Regions from separate parts of the Homo sapiens genome. Here all the other regions are linked to region 5. The links are contacts of gene promoters, found by promoter capture Hi-C in blood cells and fetal thymus (Javierre and others, 2016). All regions are on one chromosome and are shown on one strand. Each heading gives the region's core, a stretch centred on a gene start or on the middle of the fragment in contact. The rest is flanking DNA. Distances are from core to core; before and after follow the strand shown.

Region 1 (2,700 bases), core at 56-2,555, 150 kb before region 5:
GGATATGCTATGAAATTCTTGATTTTACAGTTCACTAAACTCAAAGTCAAGTCTGATCTCTTGATTCTACTCTGATCTCAGACAGCACAATTGTCTTCTGCATCATCTCTAAGGATGGAATATCTTTTCCCTAAGGAAGGAGGCTTTCCCATAACTTTATGAAGCAGTTCTCCTGTGAGACTCTTCCTGCTTCCTTGTAATTTCTACCCGGTGAACTCCAGACCCATGTGATCAAGTCTTGCACAGACAACTCTTTCAATATTTGAAGATGGCTGTCACATCTCTTACCATTGGTCTTCCAGGTCAAATACATGCAGTTCCTTCAATCACTTCTCACACCTCAGGTAGGCCTGACCACATTCTCTAAATACACTACTCGGTTTGTCAAAGTCCCTCTTGATACAAGGGACCTATGGCTAACTCCAAGCTACTGATGTCAGCTGAACGGCATAGGGCAATACAAGGTGTGCTATGATATGGTCATTGAACAAACCTCTCTTGGTGCATGTAAAATCAGGTTAGGATTTGTTTGTTTTCCTGCTGTTGTTGTTGCCATATTACCTTGAAGACTCACATTAAGCTTATGATTAGTTAAAATCCTTAGATCTTTCTTTATAATCAAATTTAAGTTTTATGACATCAAGGACATTGTATTTTCTCTGCTATGTACCCAGCACCTGGTACAGTGACTAGAACGTAGGTGGCGCTCAATAAACGTTTGTTGAATGAATGAATTTCTTTCCTTATGAATCCTGAATTGGTATAATTGACTTCAGTAACCCAAATAAGGAATTTTTGCATTTATTTCTGTTAAATTTCATCTTATTGGTTTCAGTTTAACGTTTAAATTTGCTGACCTTGATTCATTTTGATAGAGCTATGAAAACAATATTCTAGGTCTTTGTTTCTCTGTGTTGACAGAATAAGATAAAAGACATCTTTTTTTGCTCTTTTGTTCACTGAATAGACATTTGGCACAAAGATGACCTGAAGAAGTTACTATTATAGGGAAGAAAAACATAAAAGTGGACACCGTTCAGGTCAGCATTGTCCATGGTCCATACTAGAAGGGCATGTAGAAAAGCATTAGAGGCATTCAGGAACTAAGCAGTTTTTTTCTGCCTGGGGAGGGGTCAGTGTGTATACAGACCCCTGCAGGAGCCCAGCAGAGGAAGGGGGACTGTCCGAGCCAACCCTCCCACCCTGGAGAGGAACAGGAGTGCAGCCCAGCTGGCCTGACTCCATCCCCGAGAGTGAGAGCACCTGTGGAGAGGACAGCCAGGGCTTCCTGGTGGATAAACCCCCTCCACCCACACCCCAGCTGCCTTGACTTACCTGTTACCGCTTGTGGTTCTATCTTTGAATAACTAGTGATTAATGTCTGCTTCCGTCAAGGATGACTGTTAGGTTTGGTAAGGCAAGGGTTCTGTTGGGTTAGATAAGGTTTCATTTCACACACAGTCCTATCCCTGTACCTAACGCTGTTCTGGCTACATCAGGACCCTGAGTAACTTCTCATAAATGAATAAATCTAAAACTTCTGTTTGTCAATTTCTTCTTGTAGACCCCAGAGATGATGTTCTCTTTCCTCATCAGTTCTCTCTGCTCAACTTTTTGTTGTCTGTCTGATGGGCTGCACAGTAAGAAAACATCCCCACCTTCCTTACACCCCTTTTGCCAAACACAAGCCTTTTTGTTATAAGCTGTTTCTTAAAATCACTGCAAGAGACAAGTGGTAACAAACCTAGGCAGTTTGTAAAGGTTTAGGCAGCCTCATGTTCCCATGGCCCTTGTCTCCTGGGCAGAGTATCATGTTGTGCCATTGGCTCTCCAGACACTTTGAGAGTCTAGTGATGGTACCTGTCACACTGCATTGCCAGGGCTTGGTCATTCCTCTGTCTCTCTAGTTAGTCTGTGAGCTCTTCCAGGTTGGGGATCACATGATTGATATTTGCATGCCTGGCATCTTCCACACATTTGTTGAATGACTGTGAAAATGAATAAATGAATGAATGATCTAGCTGTGCAAATGAAGCTTAGTCTGTCATTCTTATAACCTCTTTCCTGAGTCTCATCTTAGATGCTTTTGTCTTAGATATCAGTCCATTGAACCTTGTCTTCATTGGACATTAGATAAAACAATTCCAACCCTAGCCAAAGATGAATTTAAGGTGACTCCACTGCAGGGTGTAGTAGTATCCTAAGTGCATTCCAGAATTTCCTCCAGAATATGTAGAAAGAATGAATAAGACCTACTATTTGATAGCACAATGGGATGACGATAGTCAATAATAACTCAACTGTATATTTTTAAATAATTTAAAGAGTGTAATTGGATTGTATGTAACTCAAAGGATAAATGCAGATTTTTTTTTCTGCAAAAAACATTGCAGATTTTTTTTTCTTCGGTTAATAGGCCCTGGTGGGAAGAACCTAGTCTTCTCTGAGTCAGAAAGGGGTCTTTTCCTGGCTCATTCTGCACTCAGCAATCCCTCAGGTTTGGACTCCTGGAGGTCCAACCTTCACCCTGGGATCTGTGCACCTGTGATCCATAGCATCTTCCTGCTGATAAGGCCATTCTGCCCTTGTGAAGTTGGGTGTCTAAACCTGTTCTCGGACAATGGTGCTGTGCCATTCATCCCAGGAGCCCTCCCATGTCAGGCCTACAGCCTCGAGACACTCTCAGCAGACCTTTGGCCT
Region 2 (2,700 bases), core at 75-2,574, 190 kb before region 5:
CATGAGGTCAGGAATTCAAGACCAGCCTGGCCAACATGGTAAAACTCCGTCTCTACTGAAAATACAAAAATTAGCTGGGAATGATGGCATGTGCCTGTAATCCCAGCTACTCGGGAGGCTGAGGTGGGAGAATTGCTTGAACCAGGACCTGGGAGGCAGAGGTAGCAGTGAGCTGAGATCGAGCCACTGCACTCCAGCCTGGGCGACAGAGCAAGACTCCGTCTCAAAACACAAACAAACAAACAAACAAAAACAAAAACAAAAAAGTGGACGTTTGTTCTTCTTCTGAGTAAAGCCAATTAGCTAACACAGGCAAATAATTCTGTCTAGTCCTCTTACTTGACAACTAGTTATTGTTGATCTTGAAAACGTATGTATGGGTTATACCTACTTGACTATATAAAGGGATGAGATTTCTTTCTGTCTTTGCAATCTCTCAGCAGATTGCCTGCAATGTGCGCTACATTCTGGTTTAATGCTTATTCAATTCTCAAAGTGTTTTTGTTTTCTATTACTTTTGTGGGGAGGATTTCTGGGTTAGGAGAAGATATAGTTTTTGGTTATATTTCCCCAACATATCTTACCATATGTCTGGTCTGTGCCTGGCCTCCTGGACTCAATCCATATTTGGTAAGTACGATGTATGTCACCTTGGCTTTTTATAGCTAAAGTTCTCTTAAAGGACTCGAACATTTCCCAAGAGATTATCTTAAAGCTTGGTGAAGTAAGAATCAGATATTATTATTTTCATTTTGTGGTGGTCCCAGAAGGTAAGGGGCCTGTCCAAGCTCATGTAATCTGGAGAAAAGCAAGGAATTGTTAAATATTTGTACTGCAAGACACTGCATGCCTGCTGCCATATCTCCCACCCTGCAGGAACCCATGCTACGTGGATTTCCACTCTATTATAATATTACAGTTTTCTTTTCTGTCATCTGGAATATTCACTTTTCCCTCAAATCTCTGCTTCTGCTCTGTATCAGCATATTTGATCCACTCCTAAGTATAATATGTGTGCAAGACAAAGGGGGACACATGTCCACAGAAAGACCTGTTCATTAATGTTCACAGCAGTTCTATTCACGATCGCCCCAACCTGGAAGCAACCCAAACGCCTATCAACAGGCCAGTGGCTAAACCAGTTGTGTCGTATCCATACAATGGAATACTACTCAGCCACTCAAATAAACTACCTATACATACATTCAATAACATTAGTGAATTTCAAAAGTGTCATGCTGAGCTTAAAAAAAGCCAGATACAAAAGATTGCACATGAATCCATTTATGTAAATGTATGTAAAAGATTACCGGAGTCCATGTACGTAAAAGACTACATATGTGCCCATTTATGTAAAATTCTGTAACAGGCAAACTAAACTATAGTGATGGGAAGCAGCTCAGTTGTTGGCCAGGGTGGGAGTGAGAGAGACTGACTGCAAATGGACACAAGAACACTATGGGATGGAAGAAATGTTCTATCTCTTGGTTAGGGTGGAGGATGCACACATGTATCATTCGTCAAATCTCAAAATGTGCATATAAATTGGGTGTCTTAGTCTGTTCAGGCTGCTCCCCCAAAATATCACAAATTGGGTGGCTTATTAACTACAGAAATTGACTTCTCACAGTTCTAGAGGCTGGAAGTCCAAGATCAGGGTGCCAGCACGATCAGGTTCTGGTGAGGGCCCTCTTGACAACTTCTTGCTAAGTCCTCTCATGGTGGAATAGATAGAGGAGCTCTCTGGGGTCTTTTTAACAAGGGCATTAATCCCACTTACGAAAGCTCCACCTTCATGATCTAATAGCCTCCCAAAGCCCTCACCTGCTAATACCATCACACTGGGGCTTAGGTTTCAACATACGAATTTTGGGGGGAACAAAAGTAGTCCACAGAAAAGGGCATAGTTGATTGTATATAAGTTATACTTCTGTAAAGCTTATTCAACAAATAATTATACATTTTTGTCTGTGCACAAAATTTGAAATAAAAAAGAAAAACAATAACAAAATGCAGTTTGCTTTCTCAGCCAAGGTGACCTAGTTCACAGATGACAGGAGAGCGACCTTTCTGCAGAGCCCTCTGCGTGCATCACAAGGGTTGCCCCTAGCCCATCCCCAATCTCTGAAAAGATGCAGACAGAGAGCTGGTCATAATAACCTGCAGCTGGGAGTGATGTGCTCCCAGAGTTCTTCTCCCGGGAAAGCCGGCATTGTCAGGAGAATCACATGCAGCCCACAGCTGGCGGGCTTTGTGTTGAATCATGATGCTTTTATAGGAAAGAAAGGGCTGTGATTCACATGTGTCATCGTTGATGGGAATATTAAGGGCTCCCTTCTCCTGGGGGAAAAATAGAAACCTCTCTCTTTAAATATTGCATTTCTTTCAAAACAAAAAGTCACTTCAGCTCCTCCCCACTGATTCATTTGAGAGAAAAAGCTGTCAGGCCCCGTATTTGGTTAAGGCAAATCCTTTCTCAGAACAAGATAGTGCTGTGTGTAGGAAAATCACCTAACTCTTGTCAGTGTTTATCAGATGTGGAGAGAAAACCTGCTTCTCTCTTTGTCATGTGACCCATCGCTCCTGCTGGCATCGTGCCATCAGCTGAGGGGTGACTGGGTTTCCCACCCACAACAAGGGTTCAGGTAGGGGCCATGGGCCTGAATTGTAATTCAGTGTTTTGAAACAGATAGCACAGTT
Region 3 (2,700 bases), core at 116-2,615, 240 kb before region 5:
AACCTCCCCAGCTCCAGTGATCCTCCCACCTCAGCCTCCCGAGTAGCTAGGACTACAGGCATGCACCATCACGCCTGGCTAGTTTTTGTATTTTTTGTACAGACACAGTCTTGCCATGTTGCCCAGGCTGGTCTCAAAGTCCTGAACTCAAGCAATCACCCACCTCAGCCTGCCAAAGTGTTGGGATTACAGACATAAGCCACTGCACCCAGCCTGTCAGTTTTTGATTGAGAGATGTCATGGGAGCAAAGGAAAGATCCAAGGTTTAAGGTACTGGCAATGCAGAGAGGCTAGGCTGGGCATCAGTGGGGCTGAGTTGGCCTGGAGAAAGGAAGAAAGAATTAGGCTTCCAGAAAAGAAGAGTGTGCTTATCAAGGAGACACTGGAAACAAAGCAGCTTGGCGCTGATGTTGATTGAAAAGTGTGGTTCTTAGCGTTTGGATGCTTTACTGGAGTTAATGTCTAATTTTGTTGGTTAGTAAGAAATAAATGTAGAGTGTTAAGGTATCATAAGCAAAATAAATCATAAACATTCAGTATCTTCGGTGTTTGAGGCAATCCAGATTGAAAAGCATTGAGGTGATTTGGGAAGGGCTATTATACCCTACTTTTCTCTTCCACCTGTTTCTGAATTTTGCCCTTAATATGAAAGACAGCAATACGTATAAATCTTTAAATGGACTTTTTTTTTTTCCATAGTGTTCTTTCAGAGGACCAAGACAGTTACCTGTGTAATGTCACCTTGTTTAGGAAGGCAGTTGATGACTTCAGACACAAAGCCAGAGAAAACAAGTAAGATTATTGTTTTTTTGTTTATTTACTTTGTTAGATCAGCTGTATACAATGTGAACAATTTTGTTTTTTTTCCCCCAAATTTAGATTCATTGTTCGTGACTTCCAGTATAATGAAGAGGAGATGAAAGCAGATAAAGAAGAAATGAACAGGCTTTCTACTGATAAGAAAAAACAATTTGTATGTGTTTTTAATATTTAGTATTATCAGTACTAAGCAGAAGAAAAAGTGGTATTGCTTTCCTTTGATTTAAAAGAAAGTAAAAATCTGCTTTGGTTTTAAGACATTTGATTTTAGTTTTTTTTTTTAATTGAATAATCAGAATGAATTTCCTCTAAAGCTTAACTGTTCTAGAGATAACTATTCTATTTCTAAGAAAGCTTTCTTCTAAAGCTTATGTCTATCTGAGATAGAATAGAGTAGATAGAATAGTTATCCTAAAATACATACTTAAAAAGAAATTACTCCACCTAAATCCATATCAGACATTAATTTTAAATGCAGTATTCTGGTTAACATCCTTGTAGGTGAAGGGTGATTTTAGTTAAGTAACGAAGTTCTTTTCAGTAAGACTTTTCACTTTCTTGAGGCAGATTTTTTCAATGCCTCAATCTTTTATTGAAGCAATTTGTATTTAAGCTATTGGAGAATTGGTGTGTTCTAGGTGTAATGGGAAACGAGTGGAATTGTGAAAATCAAAGATGGTGTTAACTTTCTTGCCATCTTCAAGTGTGGGATTACTGTGAAGACTAAAAGCTTGTTTGGAAAGGGAAACATAATGAGTGAAAATGTGTTTCTCTTAATAATGTAAGAGGAAATTAAGGGAAATATTGAAAATTATTTCCAAGTACTTTATAAGCCATATCATCTCAACTAGGAGGAAACTCATTCTAACCAAGTAATGTCAAAATAACCAGCTTTTTAGGGCAAACCCAAAATCCTTTTAAAAAATAGATATTTTGACAAGATTTTCACTTGTTTTGCTATCCTTTTGCTTAAATTAATTGTTTGGTACATCCAAATGAGCCTAATAATGTTATCCAAGGAAGTGTTAGCTGAATCTTTTAAGTATGGAGAGAGGAGGTATTTGAAATCCGCTTAATCCTACTAAATATTTGAAGTTTAAAAAGAACTTAACGCTATACAATTTAGAATGTAAAGAGGTTTTAGATGTCTAGACCAACTCCCTTTTTTACAGATGGGAAAACTAAGAGCTAGTGCTGTTAAATGACTTGCCTACATAACTGTTTATCTTTGTTACTAAGAAGTTGTTTGTAAGTTGAATTTCATTTTACATGTATTAAATGTTTTAGAGTGTTGTGTAGTAAATTCAGATCTTTATATTTTGATTTTCCAACCTAAGGCATTTCTATATTTTGTACCATTTTAACTACTTTTATTAAAATATATACCTTTTTCTGTGTTAGTGAATTGGTTCAATGCATTTTAGTGTCTGTTGAGATCTCTCTGTAGTGGCGAACCTTTTAATCTAATTTAAGATAAGGTATCTGAGATAATGAGAATAATAGTGAAACATGTAGAAAGTGAATTATGCGACTTAATTCTTCTATAGATTCCTAATAGGTAGTCACTTAAAAAAATATTTGGTCTATCTAATTGCTATTTCTAAGACCAAATTTGTGGTAATTTTTTTTCTTTTTATAGGGACCACTTGTACGGTGGCTGAAAGTGAATTTTAGTGAAGCATTTATTGCATGGATTCACGTGAAAGCATTACGGGTTTTCGTTGAGTCTGTTTTAAGGTAAAGCAAGTTAATTGCCAAACTTGGAACTGAAGAGTTCATAGATTCCTTACATTGGACCTCTTTATTATAACACAGTCCAGCAATAGGAAATTGATTTGGAGAAATCAAAGGGCCAATCATGAGACAGAGATTATCAGTATC
Region 4 (2,700 bases), core at 68-2,567, 190 kb after region 5:
AATTGATTAAAAATAAGAAACCATAAGGAATAATCATGGATGTTTTTGACATTCCTTCCTTGGGAGATTTATGGAAAATGATGACATCAATGACAGAAAAATGGAAGTCAGAGAAAGAATTGGTTTTTTGTTCTTGGAGGAGATAGTGTATAAACTGTTTTAGATATATTCAGTTTGAGGTGATAGTGAAACCCTCAAGTATACATGCTATATAGACAACTGGGAATGAATAACTGAAAATGGAGATACAGTTTTAGATATTAGCTTCATTAAAATAATAGTTGAAACCATAATTTTATCATTAATCTTAAAGTGAAGGTAAAACAAAGTGAGGGCATCATCATTATTTTAAAAAAATTTCCTGCATCCATCTAGGGTCCTTTTGGTTGTTTGCAAAAACTTTTGTCAGCTACTTGGGAGGCTGAGGCTCAAAAATCTCAAAACAAAAAAAAACCTTTTGTAATATTTATAGTGAACTTGGGTAAAAATTCTCCAATATTCTCTTATGAGTGAAGAAATGATAAGAAATAACATGTTTATGGTTGTACCTTATCATGGTCATCAAGTCAATACATGCTTATATATTATAACAGGGACTCTATTTATAAAGTAAATAATTCCTATGTATGTATTGTTTTAACAGTGGGGTGGTCAGAGTCCTTCTATTTCACTTTTGGTGCTATTTATTTTTTCAAAGATTCTTATCTATAGTTTTAGGGTAAAATCTGGATATATCTCAATCATCTCTTCATGACATTTTAAAAATTTTATTTTCCCTCATTTTTTGATTATATTGAAAATATAAAATTTACTACTTTCATGCTATTTTTTTCCTTATGCTATCTCTGTTATTTTCATTGTGATTCTGAAATCAACATCATTTGCTCACTTTTACGCTTCACATTATATACATATATATTGAGATAGAGTTTCACTCTGTCGCCCAGGCTGGAGTACAGTGGCACGATCTCAGCTCACTGCAAACTCCGCCTCCCAGATTCAAACGATTCTCATTCCTCAGCCTCCTGAGTAGCTGGGATTACAGGCACGTGCCACCACACCTGGCTAATTTTTGTATTTTTAGTAGAGACGGGGTTTCGCCATGTTGGCCAGGCTGTTCTGGACCTCCTGGCCTGAAGTGATCTGCCTGCCTTGGCCTCCCAAAGTGCTGGGATTACAGGTGTGAGCCACTGCGCCTGGCCCACAGCATATTTTTTGTGTGTGTGAAAAAAAGTACTTAAAATGTAAAGATTTCAAAAATTAGTTCACATTAATGAAAACTAAAAAATAATACTTTCTGTCCACCAACATAGTTAAGTATTATGATTATTTCCCAGCATCTATTTCACCCTTCCCTATTATGTGGCAACCATGTGGTTTTGTTGGGTCAAGCCTATCAAGTAATCCCACTCTCTTGCTACAGAGATAGGTTCAGGTTAGTCAGACTTAAGTCATCAGAGCATGGCCTGCCCTGGCCACAGGGATGAATAAAAGGTGCTCAAATTAGTGCACAGTTCAGAACTTCTATTGAATGGATATAGGAGTAGACTAGCTCAGTTGTGGAAAGGCCTGACTGTTTTTGTCAGCCACATTATGTCTGTGAAAGGAATCACTGTTAAAATCAATACCATGGACAGCAAAGTACAGAACCAGAATGAAATTTGAGTCCCTGACAAAATAACTAGGCTGCTGGATTAATCAATTCTGATTATCTATTTCTGAATTTTCTAGTTACATGAGCCAATAAATTTCCTTATTGTTTGTCATTTTATGTCGAATTTCCTTTATATGTTACTGGAAGTGTCCTAAGAGGTAGAGCTTTCTTTTTCTATTGATAAGCTAACTGTTATTATACAGGAAAGCCCTGTAGATTCCAACTTTACACCTCTATACTTAGTTCTTCCTTCTTGACTAAGCTACTCATGGCAGTTGCACAAGACTTTGAAATTGAGCTTTATTTATCCCTTACTTACATGCGAGCAGTATGTCTGTTATCATTCTCATAGACTTACTTACAAATGAGCTCATTCCCTCAGGGGTGTTATGATCTTCTGGGATTTCCAAAGCATGATGTTGTTTCTTAAGAGAAAATCATGTTGTTGAGCCTGCCAAGATTTCCCCACCTTCAATATGGTTTACGAATATTTCCATTTCTTAATTCATTGACCATCACATTAAAAAAATTAAAGCATCTTACAAGAAGAAAAATATACATTTTAAAAGAAGTAAACAAAAAATAAAGACAATGGGATGTTTTCCATGTTGACTTCTTGCAATACAGATGCTTAACTAATCCTCTATCAGTGCTGTTCAAGAGAAATTTCTTCCAAGGTGAAAATATTTTATATCTGCACTATGCAAAATGGCAGCCAGTAGCCATATATAGCTATGAGCACTTAAAATGTGATTAGTGTAACTGAGGAACTGAATGTTTAATGTTACTTAATCTTAATTAACATAATAAATTAATATATGTTTAAATTTCAATAGCCACATGTGGTTAGTATGGCTATGGCTAGTGCTACCATATTAGACAACACAGCAGAAGATCAACCCTAGAATATTGCAGGGTTAAATAAGTGGCAGTTGAATGCTTTAGCCTAACAAGTGTACTTCTACAGTGTTTTTTTTAATCCTTGAGATGTTGTTCAATGTGCATTTAATGAGGTTTTGTTTTGTTTTCTTTCTTTTTTTTTTTTT
Region 5 (2,700 bases), core at 1-2,500:
CTAGAGCCTGATCACAAAAAGATCTCATTAAGTTCGTAGAAACTGGAGAGAAATAGTCTTCCAATGTAGAAAATTAGAAATTTAGGGGAAAATATTCTTCCTACATAGAAATTTATTCTGCAATACATCAACTATCCAGCTCTTAATGATGTTAATATTTCTTCATCACTACCTGTCTCCCAACATCAGTAAGCTTTTGATAAAACTGGGGAGGAATTCCCCACTCCAAATTCGTCTTTCCCCACAGATTCCAAAACTCTTACTCTGGTTGTTCAGGGTTGTCCTTCTAGGTATGGAAATATGACATTCCTTTTCTGCAACAGGATGATTTATCTGACAAGAATAGCCTCCATCTACAAGTTACTTTGCATTTTTCAAAGTACTTCTACAAGTTCATTTGCTTCTCATACTATTCTGCCTGTTTCATAGGAGGGCCTTACAGGTTAGGTGTAAACACTTGTAACGAACTTGGCACTATTTGACTTACAGCCAGTGCTCAATTAACGTTAACCATCATTACAACTATTGTCATTCCTATATTGTGAGGAAACTATGCCCCTTAAAGATTAGGGTAATTTATCTAATATCTATGACAGAGTTGGTACCCCAAACTAGGTTGATTTCTACAGCAGTTCAACTTCCTATTAGGGTTTGTATCAATAAAACTGTGGGACCCGCCAGGGCTGGAATCCCACTGCTACCTGAGCATCCAGTTGGTGACCAGGCTCCCCGAATTAATAAAAGTATTTGTTGTTGTTTTTATAGCAGTTGTCCAGGAAGTATCTCCTTTCGAACTCAAGTCACTTGGGCAATTGGCTTTACAAAGCAAATTGGCTCCGTTTAAGGATTCTTGACTCCTGAAATCCGCAAGGAAGTGGGTTCTTTTAGAGCCAGCGCCAAGAGCTTCAAAAAATCCTTCTAAGGTGAACCCCTCCGGACCCGGATAGCGAGATGGGGCTCAGCCTTGCGCCTCGGGGGTCGTAACAGACGGCAAGGTGGAGGTGGCTTCCCGGCCCCGCAGCCGGACCTCGGCACCCCGAGCCCGTTCACCGGGGCCGGGTCCTGGCGGGCCGCGGAGTGAGGCCGGGCGGCGCAGCGCAGGCGGTGCCCGGGCGCAGGGCCAGTCCCGCCGCCGCCGCCGCCGCCGCCGCCGCCGCCGCCGCGAGCCCGGACCTGCCCGCCCGACCTGGCGGCGCAGTCTCGCGGGATCGCTCAGCTCTCGCTCCCCGTGCGGCTCTCGAGGCAGCTCCAGTCCCGGACGCAACCCCGGAGCCGTCTCAGGTCCCTGGGGGGAACGGTGGGTTAGACGGGGACGGGAAGGGACAGCGGCCTTCGACCGCCCCCCGAGGTGAGGCTTCCACGGCTGGGACTGGGCAGGGGCCGGGCGGGTGCCGGGGGAAGCGGGGAGGGCCTCGAGGGGCGAGGGGCCGCGGCTGGGATGAGGCGCGCCGGGAGCCGCAGGTGCTGGGGAGGCAACGGCGGGACGGCCCGCACCTGAGTTTCCTCGGAAGCGGGAACCGGCTCTGAAAGGCGATGCCGGGGCCCCGCGGCGCCGCGCAGGCCAGGAACGCTGCTGTCTGGCTCTAGGCCTGGGGCAGGTTCCCGGGTGTGGGGCGCTGGCGGACCGGGCATCAGTGTGTGTTGGGGCGCGGGTAATTCGTAATCCGGGGCCTACAGCCTTCCTCCCGCAAGGGGACTGCCTTCGCCCTTCCCCCGGGACAGATTTGCGCACTTTCCTTTCGACGGCAGCACTACACCCTCCTAGCCAGTGAAAACTGCAATGTTGCTCCTCCACTGGAGGAATCCTAAAAGTCTCCCTCTAGTTGGCCTTACGAAAATCGAGAAAACTACATACCCAGAAGACTGCCACAAAAACTGACTCTTCAGAGTCTTTTACAAGTTTAAGAACTCTTTGGGTCTTAAGGAATTTCCCAGGGCCTTAGTTTTCTTGTACTTAATAAGCTTTCCAACAGGGGCCCTTAGATTGTATGCTTATATTAATCCTTTATAATTTACTCCGAATCACCAGCTTTCCTTTTTTCCTCCATCTTACTCTTGCCATTCCCTCTTTTTAACCCTGTCTTCCATACAGCACCAACCTCCTAGCATCGGTTTCCTAGAGGTGCAGCTTCCTTAGCAAATGATATATTCCATGCTAAGGCAGGTGGAAGAGTATCTCGTTAGGACAGAATTTTCCGTTGTTTTTCCAGTGTTTGTTACCTGGGGTGAAAATCTTAACTCTGCACTTTGACTCCACATTTGAGTTTATGACAAATGTTGCTGATACACCCTCCTTTTGTTTTTACAGTAATTGACCCAGGACTCATTTTCAGGAAAGCCTGAAAATGAGTAAAATAGTGAAATGAGGAATTTGAACATTTTATCTTTGGATGGGGATCTTCTGAGGATGCAAAGAGTGATTCATCCAAGCCATGTGGTAAAATCAGGAATTTGAAGAAAATGGAAATGTTTACATTTTTGTTGACGTGTATTTTTCTACCCCTCCTAAGAGGGCACAGTCTCTTCACCTGTGAACCAATTACTGTTCCCAGATGTATGAAAATGGCCTACAACATGACGTTTTTCCCTAATCTGATGGGTCATTATGACCAGAGTATTGCCGCGGTGGAAATGGAGGTGAGTAGTGCTTCATACGTTTATTGAATAGTAGTTTATGCTCTGTTCTAGAATAAACTAGTA
Region 6 (2,700 bases), core at 76-2,575, 220 kb before region 5:
ACATTCTTTATTCTTTTTAACCTCCAAAGAGGCCCTCCACCTGCATTACGTGCCTTGCCCCATTAATAATGTACTAGTGCTATGTATGCTTGATTTTACATAAATGTTTTATTGTGCATTAAGGTCCATTCCCCATGCATATGCGCACATAAATTGCACTAATTAGAGTGCACAGCATGTTATATTGCAAGATTACATAAAATAGATTCAACACTTGGATATTGTCCAGTACATTAATTCCTTTCTTTTACATAGGACATAATATCATTGATTGTGCATGGCACATTAAGTCACATCAAGTCACATCAATCCTTAACAACATGCTTATCACTTCCAATAGGATTTCTTTACCACCAAGCTTTGAGAAACCAGCAACCTACTCAGGAAATGTCCTTCTTGCTTTGGGCCCATAAAACCTAGGGGCTTCTAGACTTGAAACTATACCTAGCATCTGGTTCTTACTTCAGGGCCATAGATTTGAAACCACTCATTTGTTCCCCCTAAATAAGACATCTCAGTGACTAATGACTAACTAGCACAAGATGACATGGAACTGTGGGGTCATGCATTTGGTATTTTTTAATTTTGGAGGGTGCTGTGATCCAACATGGCTGTCAATGCCTTGACACAGTCAGCTAGATCGTAGCTGCGCTTAAATGGAATATTCTTTACTCACATAAAATCATTTGGTGCTAATTGATTCATCTCAATGGACGTAATAAAAACAAGATATAGACACAGACACATACAAGCAGTTCTTCCTGCCATGTATGATTAACTTTGTAAACCCCTCTACCCTCCTTAAGCTCTTATAGTATCTGAGTAAGTCTTTTATTCTTGCCAACCCTGCCCAAATAAGAAACCTTGTATCTATTGACTGCTAACTAAGGCTCCTATATATACTCACATGCTATTAAATTTAGTTATAAGTTCATCTAGCATTAACCCAACTCCTAATTAAAGCATTTTTCAAAAATCCAAACATCAATTAAAAATTAGGCTTTCTAGGCTAAAAGTTTTTTTCTTACTAAGATTACCAAAAGAGCCCCCAATGCTAACATAGCACATAATTTAGCAGTTTTTTTCCCCAGGACAGAATTTTCTAGATATAAGTCGATGTAGCTCAGTCCACTAAAGTAAGGCACTGAAAATGCCTAGATGAGTTCATGTAACTGCATAAACACACAGGTTTGGTTCTGGCCCTTCTATTAATTCTTAGTAAGATTACATGTGCAAGTATCTGCATTGCATGTGTAATCAGCAAAAGAGCAAAAGGAGCAGGCGTCAAGCACACTAATTGGTAGCAACTAACGTCTTGCTCAGCCACACTCCTACAGGAAATAGCAATAATAAAAAGCAATAAACAAAAAGTTTGACTAAACTATGCTAATTTTCCTTAGGGTCAGTAAATTTTGTGTCAGCCACCACAGTCATAAACCCAAATTAATAAAATCTGAAAAGCACGTTTGTGTTTAGGATAATACAAATAAACTACAAAAATGACTTTAATATGATCTGAATACACAATAGCTAAGACCTAAACTGGGATTAAATACCCCACTATGTTTAGCCATAAACTTAAAGTTATTCACTAGAGTACTATCAGCAACAGCTTAAAACTCAAAGGACTTGGTGGTATGGTGTTTCCATCCCCCCTAGAGGAGCCTGGTTCATAATTAATAAGCAATGATAAACCTCACTATTTCTTGTCAATTCAGCCTGTATACTACCATCTTCAGCAAGCCCTAAAAAGGTCATAAAGTAAGCACAAGTACTTACATGGAAACATTAGGTCAACATGTAGCTTATGAGATGGAAAGAAATGACTTACATTGTCTGATTAAAGTACACCCAACCCATGATAAGCCTTATGAAACTACAGGCCAAAGGAGGATTTAGTAGTAAATTAAGAATAGAGAGCTTAATTGAATAAGGTTGTGAAGCACACATAGACCGCCCATTACCTTCCTCAAATGCTTCAATAAACTCAAGTTTATAATTAACACAGACCCATCTATAAGAGGAGATGTCAGAACAAAGAATACTGGAAGGTGTGCTTGGACAAACCAAAGTGTAGTTTAACTCAAGGCACCTGGCTTATGCCTGGAAGATTTCATATTAATCTGACCACTTTGAACTAAAACTAACAAAATTTAACAACTACATACACATTTTAACCAAAACATTATTTACAACAGGGAGGATAGGAGATGATAGAAATTTATTTAGATGCTATAGAAAAAGTACTGTAAGGGAAAGATGAAAGAATAAACTGAAAAAAAAAAAAAAAACAAAGCTTACCCCTTATGCCTTTTGCATAATGAATTAACTAGAACAATTTTACAAAGAAAACTTTAGCTAAAAACCCCAAAACCAGATGAGCTACTCATGGACAGTTACAAGAACAAACTTGTTCATGTGGTGAAATTGTGAGAATATCCTTGAGTAGAGGTAAAATGCCAGTCGAGCTGGGTGAGCGCTGAATTTCAATTCAACCTTAAATTTACCTAAAGAAATATTTAACCTTAATGTAAATTTAAACGTTAATCTAAAGAGGGACAACACTTTAGAAACAGGAAACAACCTTTTATAGAATGTAAACTATTAAATTCTCATAATTGGCCTAAAAGCAGCCACCAATTAAGAAAGGGTTCAAGCTCAACAATCAATATCTTAATTCCAACTATTTATATAAACTCC

What was found. Contacts are between HindIII fragments. The CHiCAGO score rates a contact against its expected background, and 5 or more counts as called.
Region 1: a fragment that was not itself captured here is called in contact with the fragment with the promoter of FZD6 in region 5 in 5 of 17 cell types (megakaryocytes, endothelial precursors, total B cells and 2 more); the score reaches 12.1 in megakaryocytes.
Region 2: a fragment that was not itself captured here is called in contact with the fragment with the promoter of FZD6 in region 5 in 2 of 17 cell types (endothelial precursors and megakaryocytes); the score reaches 9.0 in endothelial precursors.
Region 3: a contact is called between a fragment that was not itself captured here and the fragment with the promoter of FZD6 in region 5, in 1 of 17 cell types (megakaryocytes). The highest score is 6.5, in megakaryocytes.
Region 4: a contact is called between a fragment that was not itself captured here and the fragment with the promoter of FZD6 in region 5, in 1 of 17 cell types (activated CD4 T cells). The highest score is 5.4, in activated CD4 T cells.
Region 6: a contact is called between a fragment that was not itself captured here and the fragment with the promoter of FZD6 in region 5, in 3 of 17 cell types (megakaryocytes, endothelial precursors and erythroblasts). The highest score is 6.1, in megakaryocytes.

The regions. Positions count from the first base shown.
Region 1 is chr8:103,145,078-103,147,777 of GRCh38, forward strand. All of the region lies in intron 1 of BAALC (BAALC binder of MAP3K1 and KLF4), which reads left to right. Among named protein-coding and RNA genes, the nearest start is that of BAALC-AS2, 5.1 kb to the left of the region's middle. The HindIII fragment of the contact is 1,455 bases long and covers 579-2,033 here.
Region 2 is chr8:103,106,838-103,109,537 of GRCh38, forward strand. No RefSeq gene overlaps it. Among named protein-coding and RNA genes, the nearest start is that of LINC01181, 13 kb to the right of the region's middle. The HindIII fragment of the contact is 1,223 bases long and covers 714-1,936 here.
Region 3 is chr8:103,062,256-103,064,955 of GRCh38, forward strand. It overlaps ATP6V1C1 (ATPase H+ transporting V1 subunit C1), which reads left to right. Exons shown (of 13, transcript NM_001695.5): 9 at 700-792; 10 at 880-973; 11 at 2,459-2,556. Among named protein-coding and RNA genes, the nearest start is that of ATP6V1C1, 43 kb to the left of the region's middle. The HindIII fragment of the contact is 363 bases long and covers 1,185-1,547 here.
Region 4 is chr8:103,484,326-103,487,025 of GRCh38, forward strand. All of the region lies in intron 4 of LOC105375690 (a long non-coding RNA gene), which reads right to left. Among named protein-coding and RNA genes, the nearest start is that of RIMS2, 15 kb to the right of the region's middle. The HindIII fragment of the contact is 4,909 bases long and covers 1-2,700 here.
Region 5 is chr8:103,297,648-103,300,347 of GRCh38, forward strand. It overlaps FZD6 (frizzled class receptor 6), which reads left to right and starts at 1,251. Exons shown (of 7, transcript NM_003506.4): 1 at 1,251-1,348; 2 at 2,309-2,637. The coding sequence starts at 2,461. It overlaps LOC105369147 (a long non-coding RNA gene), which reads right to left and starts at 1,171. Exons shown (of 2, transcript NR_148216.1): 1 at 702-1,171. RefSeq lists enhancers at 827-1,327, 1,328-1,828, 1,682-1,731 and silencers at 932-981, 992-1,161, 1,282-1,531, 1,394-1,688. The HindIII fragment of the contact is 1,769 bases long and covers 192-1,960 here.
Region 6 is chr8:103,081,571-103,084,270 of GRCh38, forward strand. No RefSeq gene overlaps it. Among named protein-coding and RNA genes, the nearest start is that of LINC01181, 38 kb to the right of the region's middle. The HindIII fragment of the contact is 1,938 bases long and covers 357-2,294 here.